4 separate regions of the Homo sapiens genome follow, and all the other regions are linked to region 1. Evidence: promoter capture Hi-C in 16 types of primary human blood cells and fetal thymus (Javierre and others, 2016). All regions are on one chromosome and are shown on one strand. Each heading gives the region's core, a stretch centred on a gene start or on the middle of the fragment in contact. The rest is flanking DNA. Distances are from core to core; before and after follow the strand shown.

Region 1 (3,685 bases), core at 660-3,159:
TCCGTCTCAAAAAAATAAATAAATAAAAAATAGTTTTCAAATTGTAGTATAAAAAACTATTAGAGGTGCAAAGGACAATACAAGAGAGAAGCCATACTCCCAATATATTGGGGCAGTGGATGTAAAATAGATAGAAAAGGGCATGATGAAATATCACAGGACCCAATTAGACAGGAACTGCAAAGCATCTTAGTCTGTGCCTCATACATGAAGGTTCTCAATAAACAGAAAAACCATTTGTCCAGGTTTACCCAAGATAGGCCCTCTTTATGTCTGCTGCCCGGGCATAAATATTAATTATTTTCACTTTCCTTTTTTTTTTTTTTAAAGATAGAGTCTCACTTTGTCACCCAGGCTACAGTGCAGTGGCATGAACACAGCTCACTGCAGCATCAACCTTCCGGGCTCATGCAATCCTCCTGCCTCAGCCTCCCGAGCGGCTGGGACTACAAGTGCATGCCACCACGCCTGGCTAATCTTTGTAGTTTTTGTAGAGATAGGATTTCACCATGTTGCCCAGGCTGATCTCACACTCCTGAGCTCAAGAAATCGGCCCACCTCGGCCTCCCCAAGGGCTAGGATTACACAGGTGAGCCACCGCACCTGGCTCTTTTCACTCTTAAGTGTCCCAGTTAGCACAATAAATAACATGGTCACCCTTTCAATTAGGATCTGTTGACTAAAAGCAGCAGCTTGTCCATAGTAGAGCTGGATAAACAGTGCAGGTTCTCCGTCAGGGCTCTCCTCCTCTTCCCTCTACTCACTCTCCAACCAGGAGTCTAGGACAACCACAGGGGCCAGCCGTGGAGCAGAGTTGCGCTCTGTTAGGCCTTCCTACCAGACCCCAGCTCCACCAGCAATGGGGACTCCCACAGTCTCTTGGGGCAGGTCCATGGGAGGCCACTCTTGGCCATTATTCCCTGATTCATATCACCTTTGATGACAGTAGTAATAATGACACTAATGGCAACACAAGATCATTTTTTAAGCACTGATTATGTGGCAGGCACTACACCTGCCAAGCAAATGGCTCGACAGGCATCACCTCTTTTAATCCTCACCCCAACTCTGTTGGGTGGATATTACTAGCCCATTTTACAGATGGGAAAGCCGGTGAAATCACTTTACCAAGGTCACACAGCTAGTCAGTTTACAGGGCTGGATTTGAATCCAGTTTTGTCCAACTCTAGCCAAGGTTCTTAATCATTGCACTCCATTGCCTCCTGGGTGGCCACTATGTGACCCAAAAAGCAAAGTCTGGGCATACCGGCTACACTCTCTCCATAATGAAAACAAACTCTCAAACCAGAAGGAACCATCAGGTGCCCTCAAGGTCCCTGTTCTCCACCAATCCCCACTAACGGGATACTCCAAGTGGCCCCACCCTCGTCCTACTCTTTCAGAAAACTCCTTACCTGTTCTTCACACGCTCTACAAAGTACATGGCGCAATGCTACTGGCAATTGTGGTGCAGGTCGCGGCTCCCAGCCCTCCAGAGTGTCAGGTGGTGGGCCCCCCAGAGACCCTCTCCGAAGGAACCCACCCCACACACTGCCCCTGGCCAGACACCCTCAAGAGCAAACCCCAAGGCCGCGTTAGAACGAAATCCCACCAGCTGGAACCCCGGCCCGGTTACCACGACCACCAATGCCCCGGCCGCACCTGCAGCCGCTGAGCGTCCCAGGGACGGTGACGTCCTCTTCCAACACCAAGTCCATCATGGCTACAGAGGTGGCGACAGCGTTGGTGTCTGTGGCGGCGGCGCCACTAGTACCCCCCGCGATAGCGACCCGCCGGGCTCCCCAGGTCCCCGCCCCCTCCACCCCAGCTCTTGTTCAGACTCTGGCGGCGCCGCTGGAATTCAAACCACAGACGCCGCCATCTTTCCCGGCGCTTCTTCCTACGGAAACGAGGCGGGGTCACGGAGGCGCACGCAGTGAAGCCGACCGGCTGGCGCCAGAGGACGGGCAGGGAAGCGGGGATAGGTGCCATCTTAACTAAGGGCAAAGCATCCGTGCTTAAGCCAAGCAAAAATAAGAGACAAAAAAAGGCCGGCTGCCATTTTTTGTGAGGGCACTTAGGGAGAGGCGAGGGCGGGTGCCATCTTTGTTGAGGGCCAAAGCGGGCCCTAGTCCGTTAATTTACGCGGGAGATGGAAATGAATACAGCCACTCAGGAATCCTCAAAGTTCCTAACCTCGTGTTTGCTTTTCTAGAATAATGACCCCAAAACTTTGGGATTTGACCTTAAGTTGAAACTCAGATAACTGAGTGCTGCCTTGCTTTGGAAAAATACTACGTGCGGAATCTCAAGGCAAACAGTAATTTGCAGACTTAGTTTGAAGCAAATAACTCATTCCCATGAGCCAGTGGTCAACAGCACTCCCACTCCAGTCTCTCACCTATTGGTCTTTTATTACCATTAGGACTCAAAGGCACCTGTGGTCAGAAAACTGAGGGCCAGCAAGAGGAAAGGACTCTCCCAAAGTAATTAAGTATTGACAATGTCTTTCAACTGGAGTGGGGGTCTGCAGCTCCTGCCAACTAGATGAGGGCTCTCTGCATAACCCTGGCTGCCTTTCTTTTTTTTTTTTTTTGAAATGGTGCCTCTGTCGCCAGGCTGGAGTGCAGTGGCCCGATCTCAGCTCACTGCAACCTTCACCTTCTGGGTTTAAGCGATTCTTCTGCCTCGGCCTTGCGCCACCACACCCGGGTAATTTTTGTATGTTTAGTAGAGACGGGGTTTCACCATGTTGGCCAGGATGGTCTCAATCTCCTGACCTCGTGATCTGCCCACCCCGGCCTTCCAAACTGCTGGGATTACAGGCGTGAGCCACAGCACCGGCCCCTTGGCTGCCTTTCTTAAAGCACATAGCAATCACCAAACACTTAGATAATCTTGGCAGAGCTTAAGCAATGAAATTAACCTTCCCCTCCTCAACTCAGTGTTGCTCCTTCCTCTGCAGGCCCTTGTGAGAGAGCCCGATGAAAATAACTTGAAATGGTTGGTGAGTGGATAGATAGTGACTTTCCCAGTAATCTTGAACAATTCCCCTTTCACCCTGTTTCCTCATTCTTTTTTTTTTTTTTTTAAATAGAGACAGGGTCTCACTATGTTGCCCAGGCTGGTCTTGAACTCCTGGCCTCAAGCAATCCTCCCACCTTGGCCTCCCAAAGTGCTGGGGTTATAGGCCTGAGCCACTGCACCAGGCCCTCATTCTTCAGTTAAGTAATTAACCAATTATTGATACTTTTCAAAAGAAGCCTTCCCTAGTCATTTAATCTAAATCAAGCCACTTCTTGTATTCCTAGCAATGCAAATTATTCCTTTGTGGCACTTACCATATTTTGCAATTTGTGTGTGTGTGTGTGTGTGTAAAATCATTTTTTAAATGTCTTTCCTTGCACTAGACTGGAAGCTGCATGGGGCAGGGACTATATTCTGAATTGTTCACTGCTATATCCTCAACACCTAGCACTATGTCTGCCACTCAGCAGCTATTTGAAAATGTATGTTAAATGAATGAGTGATTCAATCAATCAGTCTGGAAATAAGGCCAATACCTATCCTGCAAGGTTTTTGTGAGAATAATCAGAGATACTTTTAGGACCTCTGTCAATAGTAATTCTGTGTATCCCAGATTCATATTCATTCTCTCTCTTTCTCTCTCTCTCTCTGTCTCTCT
Region 2 (3,685 bases), core at 306-2,805, 1.7 Mb after region 1:
TGCATTGAAAAGAGTTGCTGGGACAGTAGATAAGCCAGGATTTTGGGTTGGTCATCTAGCCAAAATTAAAATGAACCTTCTGTGAAGAACAGGGAAATCGTTTGAGACCCTCAACTTTGGAAAAAGAATGTGTGCTTCAAGTAGTTTAAAAAAATATTTCAGTCTGTAATCTCAGCACATTGGGAGGCCCAGGCGGGCGGATCACGAGGTCAGGGGGTCGAGACCATCCTGGCTAACACGGTGAAACCCCGTCTACTAAAAATACAAAAATTAGCTGGGTGTGGTGGCGCACGCCTGTAATCCCAGCTATTTGGGAGGTTGAGTTAGGAGAATGGCTTGAACCCTGGAGGCGGAGGTTGCAGTGAGCCAAGATTGCGCCACTGCACTCCAGCCTGGGCGACAGAGTGAGACTCCGTCTCAAAAAAAAAAAAAAAGAAAAAAAATTCAGGCCGGCGCAGTGGCTCACGCCGGTAATCCCAGCACTTTGGGAGGCCGAGGCGGGCAGATCACCTGAGGTAAGGAGTTTGAGACCAGCCTGGCCAACATGGTGAAACCCCATCTCTACTTAAAATATATAAAAGTTAACTGGGTGTGGTGGTGGGTGCCTGTAGTCCCACCTACTCAGGAGGCTGAGGCAGGAGAATCCCCTGAACCTGGAAGGCATAGGTTGCAGTGAGCTGAGAACGTGCCACTGCTCTCCAGCCTGGGCAACAGAGTGAGACTCTGTCTCAAAAAAAAAAAAAAAAAAATTTAATAGTTGGGATGCTATTATAATAGCTACAATTTATTGTGTACCTACTGGATGCCAGGCATTGTACTGTGTGTATGTGTTTTGTTAAGTGACTAGGTCTCACTATATTGCCAAGGCTGGCCTTGGACTCCTGGCCTGAAGTGATCCTCCTTCCTTAGCATCCCAAGTAACTGGGACTATAGGCACCCATCACTGTTCCCAGCCATGCTGAGTGTTCTATATGCATTGTATAGCAGTTAATAACATAGACTCTAGAGCTAGATTGACTGAATTCAAATCTTGGGCAGATTTTTGCTTCTGTTTTCTTATCTGTAAAGTGGGAATAATCATAGTACTTACTTCAGGGTTATCATGAGGCTGAAATGAGTTCATGTGCATAAACCACTTAGAATAGTTTCTGTCACGTAGTCATTGTTATATAAATGTTAGGTATTGTCATTATTGTTATCTTTTAAAGTCTCATTAATATCACTATGATGATGATGTGGAAGCTGTAGCTCAGAGAGGCTAAATGACCTCCCCAAGGTCACACAGCTAGTAAGTGGGGGAATTGAGATTCCAGTTCCAGACTGCGTCCAAAGCTCAGACACTTCCCCACATTGCTTCTATGTATAGGTTAATTTTGTTGGCTCATACTTGGGATCTCAACAAATTTTTCTTCAACTTTAATTCTTTATCTGTGCTGAACTGAATGTTAATTTGTATACCCTTAAGGTAAAGGACCTAAAGGACTGCTTTTATTGAACTTCCACTTTGAAATTTCTTGACTTCTGTGCAATTAAAATCTACGCCTTAAGCATTTCAGCGATGTGGTTTATTTATAGAGTTGTCTTCCGGTTCACGTGTACTGGGTCTGCTTTTGGGTGCTGCGTTTTCTGTCAAAGGTTGTTTATTTCTAACCCATTTTGATTTCCTGTTGCTTTGTGAGTTGGTATTATGACCTGCAACAGGAATACCAGGAAACCTGTCTTAAATGGAGCAGCCAGATTGAGACCCTGTAGACTAAAATAAAATCTACTCATTATTCTACAGCCATATTTGGTTATAAGTATGAGTTAGGCATTGGTTTTATTAGGGAAAAACCTAGATATAGAAACTTCACTCTGAGCCAAACCTCTGTGAACAGTTCTGCTAAAATAGAGCTTGGCTATTAGCTCCATGTCCTTGGACAGTGACTTAATCTCTCTGAACCTCAGTTTCAGCATCTGTAAAATGGGGATTATTATACGTTCTTTGTGGCATTATTGAGAGAATTAAATGAAATAGTATGGTTAAAGCAAACAGTCCAAACTTGACCTCAATTAATAGTAGCTATTGATACTAGTAAAGAAGAAAAATATTCCCTTTTTTCATCAAATCTGGTTTTATAGACTTCATACACTGATCACTAACTTCTAGTATCCCTTACTGTTAAAAATTCCATCGCGAGAAATGATTTGCCTTTGTGCTACTCATTTGCTTTAAAAATAATATCCATCATTAGGCCGGGTGCGGTGGCTCACGCCTGTAATCCTAGCACTTTGGGAGGCCGAGGTGGGTGGATCACGAGGTCAGGAGATCGAGACCAACCTGGCTAACAAGGTGAAACCCCGTCTCTACTAAAAAATACAAAAAATTAGCCGGGCGTGGTGGCAGGCGCCTGTAGTCCCAGCTACTTGGGAGGCTGAGGCAGTAGAATGGCGTGTACCCGGGAGGCGGAGCTTGCAGTGAGCCGAGATCGTGCCACTGCACTCCAGCCTGGGCGACAGAGTGAGACTCTGTCTCAAAAAAAAAAAAAATAATAATAATAATAGCCATCATTCATTAAGCTGCTATATTCCTGGCACTATGTTAGTTGTTTACATGTATTCATTATTAAATTTTATTTTAAGTTCAAGGTTATTTTTATCATTGATGAGGAAAGTGATGCTCAGAAAAGAAGAGTAAATTGCCTAAAGTTGAAATTTACATCCAGGTCTGACTGATTGTAGGCTATTTTGTACATCATTAATAACATACAAGGTTTCTTTATTGTGTCTGACCCTGGCATAAAAGTTTTAGAGGCCGGGCATGGTGGCTCACACCTGTAATCCTAGCACTTTGGGAGGCCAAGGCAGGTGGATTGCCTGAGCCCAGGAGTTCAAGACCAGCCTGGGCAACATGGTGAAACCCTGTCTCTACTAAAAATACAAAAAAATTCGCTGGGCATGGTGGCATGTGCCTGTAATCCCAGCTACTTGGGAGGCTGAGGCATGAGAATTGCTTGAACCTGGGAGTGGAGGTTGCTGTGAGCCAAGATCGTGCCACTGTACTCCATCCTGGGCAACAGAGTGTGACTCAGTCTCAAAAGATAATAAAGATAATATTTTTTTAAAAGTTTGAAAAAAAAGGTGATAGCTATCAACAGGTATTATTTTGGGGGGCTCCTGCTGTTTGCTAAGTACTGTGTCAAGGGCTTTACTTGCATAACCTCATTAATTATTCCTAACCCTAAGAAATGAGTACAATTATTCCCATTTTATAGTTGAAGAAATCAAGGAGCAGAAATATTCAGGAATATTTAGTCAGTAATGGAGCTAGGATTGGCTTCCAGGTCTTCCTGACGGCAAAGCCCATGTTATTCATTCCATTGTGTTGGATCAAAATTTTAGGATGGGATTTAAAAAAAAAAATAAGGTGTGGGACTGTTACTCAAAGGAAACAGCTTCCAGGTATTTGATACTAATTGTTCTTAATTTTTACCTGAGCCATAGCAACATTACTGGCAGAAGCTATCAATGATATATTTGTCAGTTAGCTAGGGCTGTGTTCTATCCTGAGGTAGTTGTAGGCGATGGCATCTTTCCATGGTCAAAGACCTCAGATGTAGAATGCGTAACTTGTGTTAACACAGGAGAGGGTGGCATGTTCCAGAGCTCTAGTTCTATACCATGGAAGACCTCAAACCTCAATCAT
Region 3 (3,685 bases), core at 876-3,375, 1.6 Mb after region 1:
GAGATGCAAGGTGAAGAATTCTTTTTCTAGAAGTTTTTAGGCAGAGGGAACAGCATGAGCAATAGCCCAGAGGGCACGTATGGAGTAGAGCTGGCAGTTCAGTTTGGCAGGAGAGTGGGTTGTGCCCAGAGGAGTTATGCAAAGGGAAGCTGGACAGGCGGTCTGTGCTCTGGCAAAGAAATTTCAATACCGTGCACAATTCTGGTGGTGGAGGAACCACTGATAGATCCTGGTAGGGCCAAGCATCAGGAAATAAAACTTATTTCATCTCTGTAACTCTCCTCATAATGCATATGTGTGGTAGAGACTCAGTAAATGTTGGCTGAATGAATGAATGAATGAATCATAGGTTTTGAGGGGTTTGTTTGAGACAGGGTCTCACTCTGGAGTGCTCTGGCTGGAGTGCAGTGGTGCAGTCTTGGCTCACAGCAATGTCCACCCCACCGGACTCAAGCGATCCTCCCACCTCAGCCTCCCCAGTAGCTGGGACCACAGATATGCGCCACCATGCCCAGCTAATTGATAGGTATTTGAGATCTGGTAATCATATCCTTATTATGGATTGAAGCCTTCACTATAAAGTGGTTTTTTTCTTCTTTTTAACTTACTTTGAATTTAGAAGGCAGGCTTTTCACCTTGAATGAATTTTTTAAAATGGAAGAGAAGGAGGGAGAAAGGAAGGGAAAGAGAGAGAGAGAGTGAAGGAGAAAAAGAAGAAGGGAGGAGAAGGAGAGAAGGAGGGACAGAGAGGAGGGAAGCAGGAAAAGTGAAGATGGGGAGATCAGCTCAGAGCTCACTGCAGTTGTCCCAGTAAGAGGCAGCAGAACCCTGGGCCAAGGCAGAAGCAGTGAAGCTGCAGGAAAGAGAAAAATGTAGGAGAGGTTTGGGGATTTTACTGCCAGGAGTTGGCAGCTGATTGGCTCCAGTCCCGTCCAGAGATGGCTTACAGCCCCAGCCCTGGGCCCAGCTCCTGGCCTTGAACCAGAGGATTCTGATACCATTCATGGAAATAGAGAACTCTAAGGAGGTGCTGCTTAGGGGAGGAGGAGATGAGTTCTGTTTTAGGCGAGTTGGAGATGTCTGTGAGAGGTCTGAACAGTGATGTCCAGTTCAAGGTAAGAAAAGGGGTGGGGTCTAACCTCAGAGAAGGGTGTAGAACTTGAATATGGAGATGGTGCTTAGAAATGATAGATGTGAGCTCAAGCAAAGAGTACAGGAGGGAAGGAGAAGAGGAATTCTCCCTTCCCCCCATGTCTTGCACTAGAATAAAAGTGAAATAGTTTTCAATTTCTTGTTCTATGCCGGGCATTCTGCTATAGTTTCACAACCATCGTCTCACTCAGTTATCTCAACAACTTTGTCATCCACTCTGTTCACTGACTACTCTTTCTGTTTCCTTCATTCTTTACTCAGGAGACGTTTATGAAGCACCTGCTTAATGGTTCTAGGAGCTGAGGATACCAAAGTCTTCCTTTAAAGAAGCTTTTCTTAAATACAGGAGATAAGATACCTAATTACAAAACAAGATAGAAAGTGTTACACATCCCGACAGAGGTATTAGCAAAAGCCTAAAGAAGGTCAGAGTTAGGAGAGGAGCCTTCAGCTTGTTAGGAGGAATGGAGAAGGAATGAATGAAAGCATATTTATTAAGCACTCACTATATATATGTCAGGCCCTTTACTAGGAAAATCGTTATATGTTACCTGGATTAATTGCAGCCATTTCACCCATAAAGAAACTGGTCAGCCCAGTGCAGTGGCTCACACCTGTAATCCCAACATTTTGGGAGGCTGAGGCAGGAGGATCATTTGAGCCCAGAAGTTCTAGATCAGCCTGGGCAACATAGGGAAACCCCGTCTCTACAAAAAAAAAAAAAAAAAAAAAAAAATTAAATAAGCCAGGCGTGGTGGGGCACACCTGTGGTTCCAACTACTTGGGAGGCTGAGGTGGGAGGATCACTTGAGTTCAGGGGATTGAGGCTGCATTGAGCCATGATCACACAGCTGTACTGCAGCCTGGGAGACAGAACAAGATCTGGTCTTGGGAAAAAAACAAAAAACAAAACAAAGAAGCTAGTCAACTGGTCAAGCTGGTGTCCCTGCCTTGTTCTCCTGTATGAGCCTGTCTTCCTCCTGCATAGCACTTATCACACATTGTATAATTACTCAATTTTGTCCCCCACTAGACTGTGAGCCCCCCGAGGACAGGGACCGCATCTGCCTTGATCACTGTTGAATCTGTGTTGTATTCAGCAAGTTGGACCATCAGCATAGTCCCTGACAAAATGTAGGTGCTCTGTAAATACCTGTTTGGAAGGAAAGAAGGAAGGGAAGGAAGGGAGGGAGGCACAAGCAAAGAGGTTTGGGAAAGTATCTGTATTAGTCTGTTCTCATGCTGCTGTAAGGACATAACCAAAGACTGGGTAATCTATAAAGGAAAGAGGCTTAATGGACTCACAGTTCCACATGGCTGGGAAGGCCTCACGATCATGGTGGACGCAAAGGGGGAGCAAGGGCACATCTTACATGGCAGCAGGCAAGAGAGCATGTTCAGGGGAATTGCCCTTTATAAAACCATCAGATCTCATGAGACTTATTCACTATCATGAGAACAGCATGGGAAAAACCCACCCCCATGATTCAGTTACCTCCCACTGAGTCCCTCCCATGACATGTGGGGATTATGGGAGCTACAATTCCCGATGAGATTTGGGTGGGGACACAGCCAAACAATATTAGTATCCAAGATTATATATATATATAATGGTGGTAAGCTTCAAACCCTTACTCCTGTCTCTAAATTTCATATTTTCCCTAATATTCCACTTGTGGCATAATAGGCAAGGATGGGTTGGTCATGGGGGACAGAGAAATCACAGAACTAGCTGCCAGAAAACCTGGGCTCTAGTGTCCACAGTTTTTACTGTGTGTGGTTTTGGGCACATCTCTACGCTCTCTGGGCCTACTAGGGGGGTTTATTTCAGGGAGCAGTGTGAACTCCAAGGTGAGAGTGAGCCTCTAGGTGAAGGGGAGAATGAACAGAGCAAACTCTATTCCCCTCTTTTCGTTTTTGAGCTTTTGAGGGAAACAAAACAAAAATTTTGTTTTCAGCAGAGTACTGCTGGGATGAGAAGGATGAGAATGCTGAGAACGGGGTTCCTGCTCACTCTGTTGCCTGCCAGCTCTGATCCTCCAGCTGTCACACAGGGCTCAGTGATTTCCCTGTGTCTTTACAGGATGGAGGGCAAAGCCAAGTACATCCTCCCTACCGAAACAATATATGTTGGGGAAATGAAGGATGGCATGTTTCACGGCGAGGGAACCCTGTACTTCCCCAGCGGAAGCCAATACGACGCCATTTGGGAAAACGGATTGGCCATAAAGGTGATCAGCTGGGGGGACGGATGCTGTGGAGGAGAGATCCTCACGCAAGAAGAGCCTCACCCTCTGGCACCCCATCCTCCCTGTCTGGTGCCCACCTTGTTCCATTCACTCTTCTCTTTGCTTCTCCCCCACTCCCCCCACTTTTTTTTTTTTTTTTTAGTCTCACTCTGTCACCAGGCTGGAGTGCAGTGGCACAATCTCGGCTCACTGCAACCTCCGCCTCCTGGGTTCAAGCGAGTCTCCTGCCTCAGCCTCCCGAGTAGCTGGGACTACGGGCGTGCACCACCATGCCCAGCTAATTT
Region 4 (3,685 bases), core at 712-3,211, 1.5 Mb after region 1:
TAAAACCCTCCTGGGGACCCCTGAAGCTATATGGGAAAGAGCTTGTTTTGTTTTTGTTTTTGAGACAGGGTCTCACCCTGTTGCCTAGGCTGGAGTGCAGTGACACGATCTCCACTTACTGCAACCTCTGCCTTCTGGGTTCAAGCGATTCTCATGCTTCAGTCTCCCGAGTAGCTGGGACTACAGGCACTCCCCACCACACGGGTTAATTTTTGTACTTTTAATAGAGACAGGGCTTCGCCATGTTGGCCAGGTTGGTCTCAAACTCCTGACCTCAAATGATCCACCCATCTCGACCTCCCAAAGTGCTAGGATTACAGGCGTGAGACACTGCGATCGGCCGGGAAGGGGCTTGTTTTGACACTGACCTCACCATGTCTTCACCACTCCCATCCCATCCACATCCCAACACCTTGTCTCTTTCCCCCAGATGGACTTGCTGTAAAATGGACTTTTACAGCTGTCAAAGTCAATTGACTTTTTAAATTTTTAAATTGACGTTAACAGCTGTAAAAGTCCATTTTACAGCAAATCCATTTGTGGGGAAAGAGACAGGAGGAACAAATGGTCCAGGAGAGAAGGGTGTGGGGAACTTTTGCCCCAGCTGGTTGTTTCTGCCCTATTAGTATCAGAGGTCGCCACCAGGTGGCGCCCGAGGTCCAGTTTTTAAGAGGGAGAAGGCTGAAGCGCCTCTGAATCGCGAGCTCTGCCCAGCTAAGCTTGCAAACACACACATTTTTGCACCTCTGGGCTTTTGCCACTATTGCTCTCTCTGCTGGGTGCACCCTCCCTCACAGCTCACCTGACCCAATCCGCTCAGTTTATCCTTCAGGCCCAGCTACAAAATCTCCTTTTCTTAGGGTATGGCTGAGCTCCCGGGGGCATCCAGTTCCCGGAAGGCGGCGTGGCCGATCTTAATGAATGAGCAAAAGGCGTCATGTTCAGTTTCAGGTTAACTTTTTCTCTAATAGGTTGTTTCTTTCTTATTGTCAGTAGTAGCCATTGTTCATGGAGCACATCTGTATGTCGAGCCTCGTTGTGTATTTGGGCATTTAACTGAACATTATTTTCCCCACAGCACAGTTTAGCCTGGAGGCTGAGCACGAGTTGAGTTCTGAAGCTGACAGCCTGGGTTCAAGTCTTATCTCTCCCACTTTCTGGCTGATTATACTTAGATAGGTTACCTGGCTCTTCTGTGATTCTTTCCTCACTGTGAAAAGGTGAAAATGATAGTACCTACCTCCCGGTGTTCCTGTTACTTTGAGGATTAAGTTAGCCACCACATGGAAAAGCATTTAGAACAGAAACGGCCGGCATATACCAAACCCTCAAGTAACCTGTTGATCTCTGTTATGCCCCTATGTCCCTCTTGGCTTTATGATTCTCTAGAAAGCAGTGACATCCCCTCCTCTTGGATCTGCTTTTATGACCTCTCCACCCCATGCTAGGCTGCATTTCCCCATCCCCACAGACCAGGAGTTTCTGGAGGACTGGGCTGTGGTTGATTCAGTCCCCTGGGCCCCCAGCACAGGGCCCAGCACAGAGTAAATGGCACTTATGGAATTGGATTATGAATTATTTAGCCTGGGCATTGTTGCCTTAGGTTTTACAGTTCTGTATCTACAGGTATGTCAAGGGATATAGGGGTGAAAGAGGAAATTACCGAAACAAAACAGTTTTGACATTTTTATTGGAGGGTAATATACACACAGAAAACTTCGATGGATTTTCATAAACTGAAAAGACCGAAGAAACCAACACCCAGATCAAAAATCAGAACATCCCCAGCACCCTGGAAGCCCCACCCTAGGGTAATTGCTTTCCTGACTTCTAATAGCATGGATTAGTTTTGTTTAAAATAAGATACATTTTAACTGATTCCAAGTTTTAAGAACCCACGTCATACATTATGTGCTTAGGTGGAGAGGCATAAGGCCAGAGGCTATTTTCAAACACAACAGCAGACAGTGGGACCCACAGTGACCAACAGCCCACTGGGGTGGGGCCCTGCTTCATGGCTTGCAAAATGCCATATGATATCTGTGCACCGAGTACCCCTTTCCACTTCTGCACACCCATGTGTCCATGCTGTGCGTGGAAGTCAAGGAGGGACGTCCCAGAAGAGGGGACAGGGACAAGAGCAGGGCGCCTGGCAGAACCGATCACTCAGGGAAAGGCCCTGACAGGTGAACTAGGGAACGTAAGGGGGTGCTGGGTGTGGGCAGGAGGGGTGTGGTAAAGACATGCAGAGGCTGGCAAGCTCAGGGTCAGAACAAGCCCCTTCACTGCCGGCACAGTGGCTCACACCTATAATCCCAGCACTTTGGGAGGCCGAGACAGGCAGATCACTTGAGGTCAGGAGTTCGAGACCAGCCTGGCCAACATGGCGAAATCCCATCTCTACTAAAAGTACAAAAATTAGCCAGCGTGGTGGTACATGTCTGTAGTCGCAGCTACTCAGTAGACTGAGGCATAAGACTTGCTTGAACCCAGAAGGCAGAGGTTGCAGTAAGTGGAGATCGTGCCACTGCATTCCAGCCTGGGTGACAGAGATCGTGCCACTGCACTCCAGCCTGGTGACAAAAACAAAACAAGCTCCTTCCCATAGCTTCAGGGGTCCCTAGGAGGGTTTTTAGCAGAGGACTGACTGGTCAGATTTCTATTTCAGAAATAAAGCTCTGCACGTTGAGAAATAAAAGTAAGTTAACATTTATTGTCCTAAACCCTTTACGTGGATTATTGAGTTTATGGCTCACAGCAACTAAGGAGGTAGACAGCAGTGGTCTCCCACTTTATAGATCAGGAAGCAGCACAAGGAAAGTAAGTGGGTGCCCAAAGTCACTCAGCTGGAAGTTCTGGAGCTCATATGCCAACCCGGGCCCAGAGCCTGACCCCTAACTTTATTCTACCTTGGAAGAGGGCTTGGGGGCAGAATCGGGGTGAGGAGACCAGTGAGGAGTCTACTGCAGTTAAGCAGCCCAGAGGTGGTGGGGGGCGGCTGTGGGAAGGGGACCGAGATAGGAGGGAACTGGGGCCCTTCCTGCTGCTCAGGCTCATCAGCATTGCCCTTTCCTCAGGCACCAGGAGCTTGGACTGGGCTCCCCTCTCACCAGCCAAATTTCAGAGACTCCCAGTTTCCTCCTCCTCCCTCCTCACTGTCCCCAAAAGACTCATCCTTCCAATGCTTTCACTTTGCCAAGGAAGAAGCTTAGGAGATGGCAGTAAGTCTGGGGTCCCACAGCCCTGGTCTGTACCCTGGGGCTCAACAACTTCATGAAAGGGTCTCTGGAAGCACTGGGGAGCCTGCCCCCTCTAGTTATTATCCTGAGGATGAGTGGAGGTGATCCTGGCTTCCTTCCCCCTGGGCCTCTTCCTCCAGGGCATCCCTGTCCCTGGGAGATTAGCTTGAAGCTGCCATCAGCCTCAAGGATAGCACCCCCTTGTCTTGGGGGGATGAATGGTCACTAGGAGACCTCCAGACTAGCAACACCTCCTGTGGAGCCCCTGCCCTGGGAAGCCTCCTGGAGAAGGCTGATGGAAGACAGAGGTATCTTTGGGCAGCCACACCTGGCACCTGGTGGACAGACATACCTGGAGGGGCAGGCCGGAGGGAGGTGAAGACAGCTTTAGGGAGAAATTGGAGCTGCAGATGGAGGCCTAATCTTGTCTGCTCTGAGAAAGAGCC

Evidence for each region. Contacts are between HindIII fragments. The CHiCAGO score rates a contact against its expected background, and 5 or more counts as called.
Region 2: a contact is called between a fragment that was not itself captured here and the fragment with the promoter of CDK5RAP2 in region 1, in 1 of 17 cell types (non-activated CD4 T cells). The highest score is 5.4, in non-activated CD4 T cells.
Region 3: a contact is called between a fragment that was not itself captured here and the fragment with the promoter of CDK5RAP2 in region 1, in 1 of 17 cell types (activated CD4 T cells). The highest score is 6.4, in activated CD4 T cells.
Region 4: a fragment that was not itself captured here is called in contact with the fragment with the promoter of CDK5RAP2 in region 1 in 3 of 17 cell types (non-activated CD4 T cells, total CD8 T cells and naive CD8 T cells); the score reaches 8.0 in non-activated CD4 T cells.

The regions. Positions count from the first base shown.
Region 1 is chr9:120,578,258-120,581,942 of GRCh38, forward strand. It overlaps CDK5RAP2 (CDK5 regulatory subunit associated protein 2), which reads right to left and starts at 1,910. Exons shown (of 38, transcript NM_018249.6): 1 at 1,663-1,910. The coding sequence starts at 1,721. RefSeq lists enhancers at 1,582-2,144, 1,998-2,127. The HindIII fragment of the contact is 6,111 bases long and covers 1-3,685 here.
Region 2 is chr9:122,266,651-122,270,335 of GRCh38, forward strand. The region is part of intron 1 of MRRF (mitochondrial ribosome recycling factor); the gene reads left to right. Among named protein-coding and RNA genes, the nearest start is that of MRRF, 3.6 kb to the left of the region's middle. The HindIII fragment of the contact is 5,207 bases long and covers 1-3,685 here.
Region 3 is chr9:122,163,533-122,167,217 of GRCh38, forward strand. It overlaps MORN5 (MORN repeat containing 5), which reads left to right. Exons shown (of 5, transcript NM_198469.4): 2 at 3,236-3,383. Among named protein-coding and RNA genes, the nearest start is that of MORN5, 5.5 kb to the left of the region's middle. The HindIII fragment of the contact is 1,291 bases long and covers 1,481-2,771 here.
Region 4 is chr9:122,098,824-122,102,508 of GRCh38, forward strand. No RefSeq gene overlaps it. Among named protein-coding and RNA genes, the nearest start is that of TTLL11, 7.4 kb to the left of the region's middle. The HindIII fragment of the contact is 2,488 bases long and covers 718-3,205 here.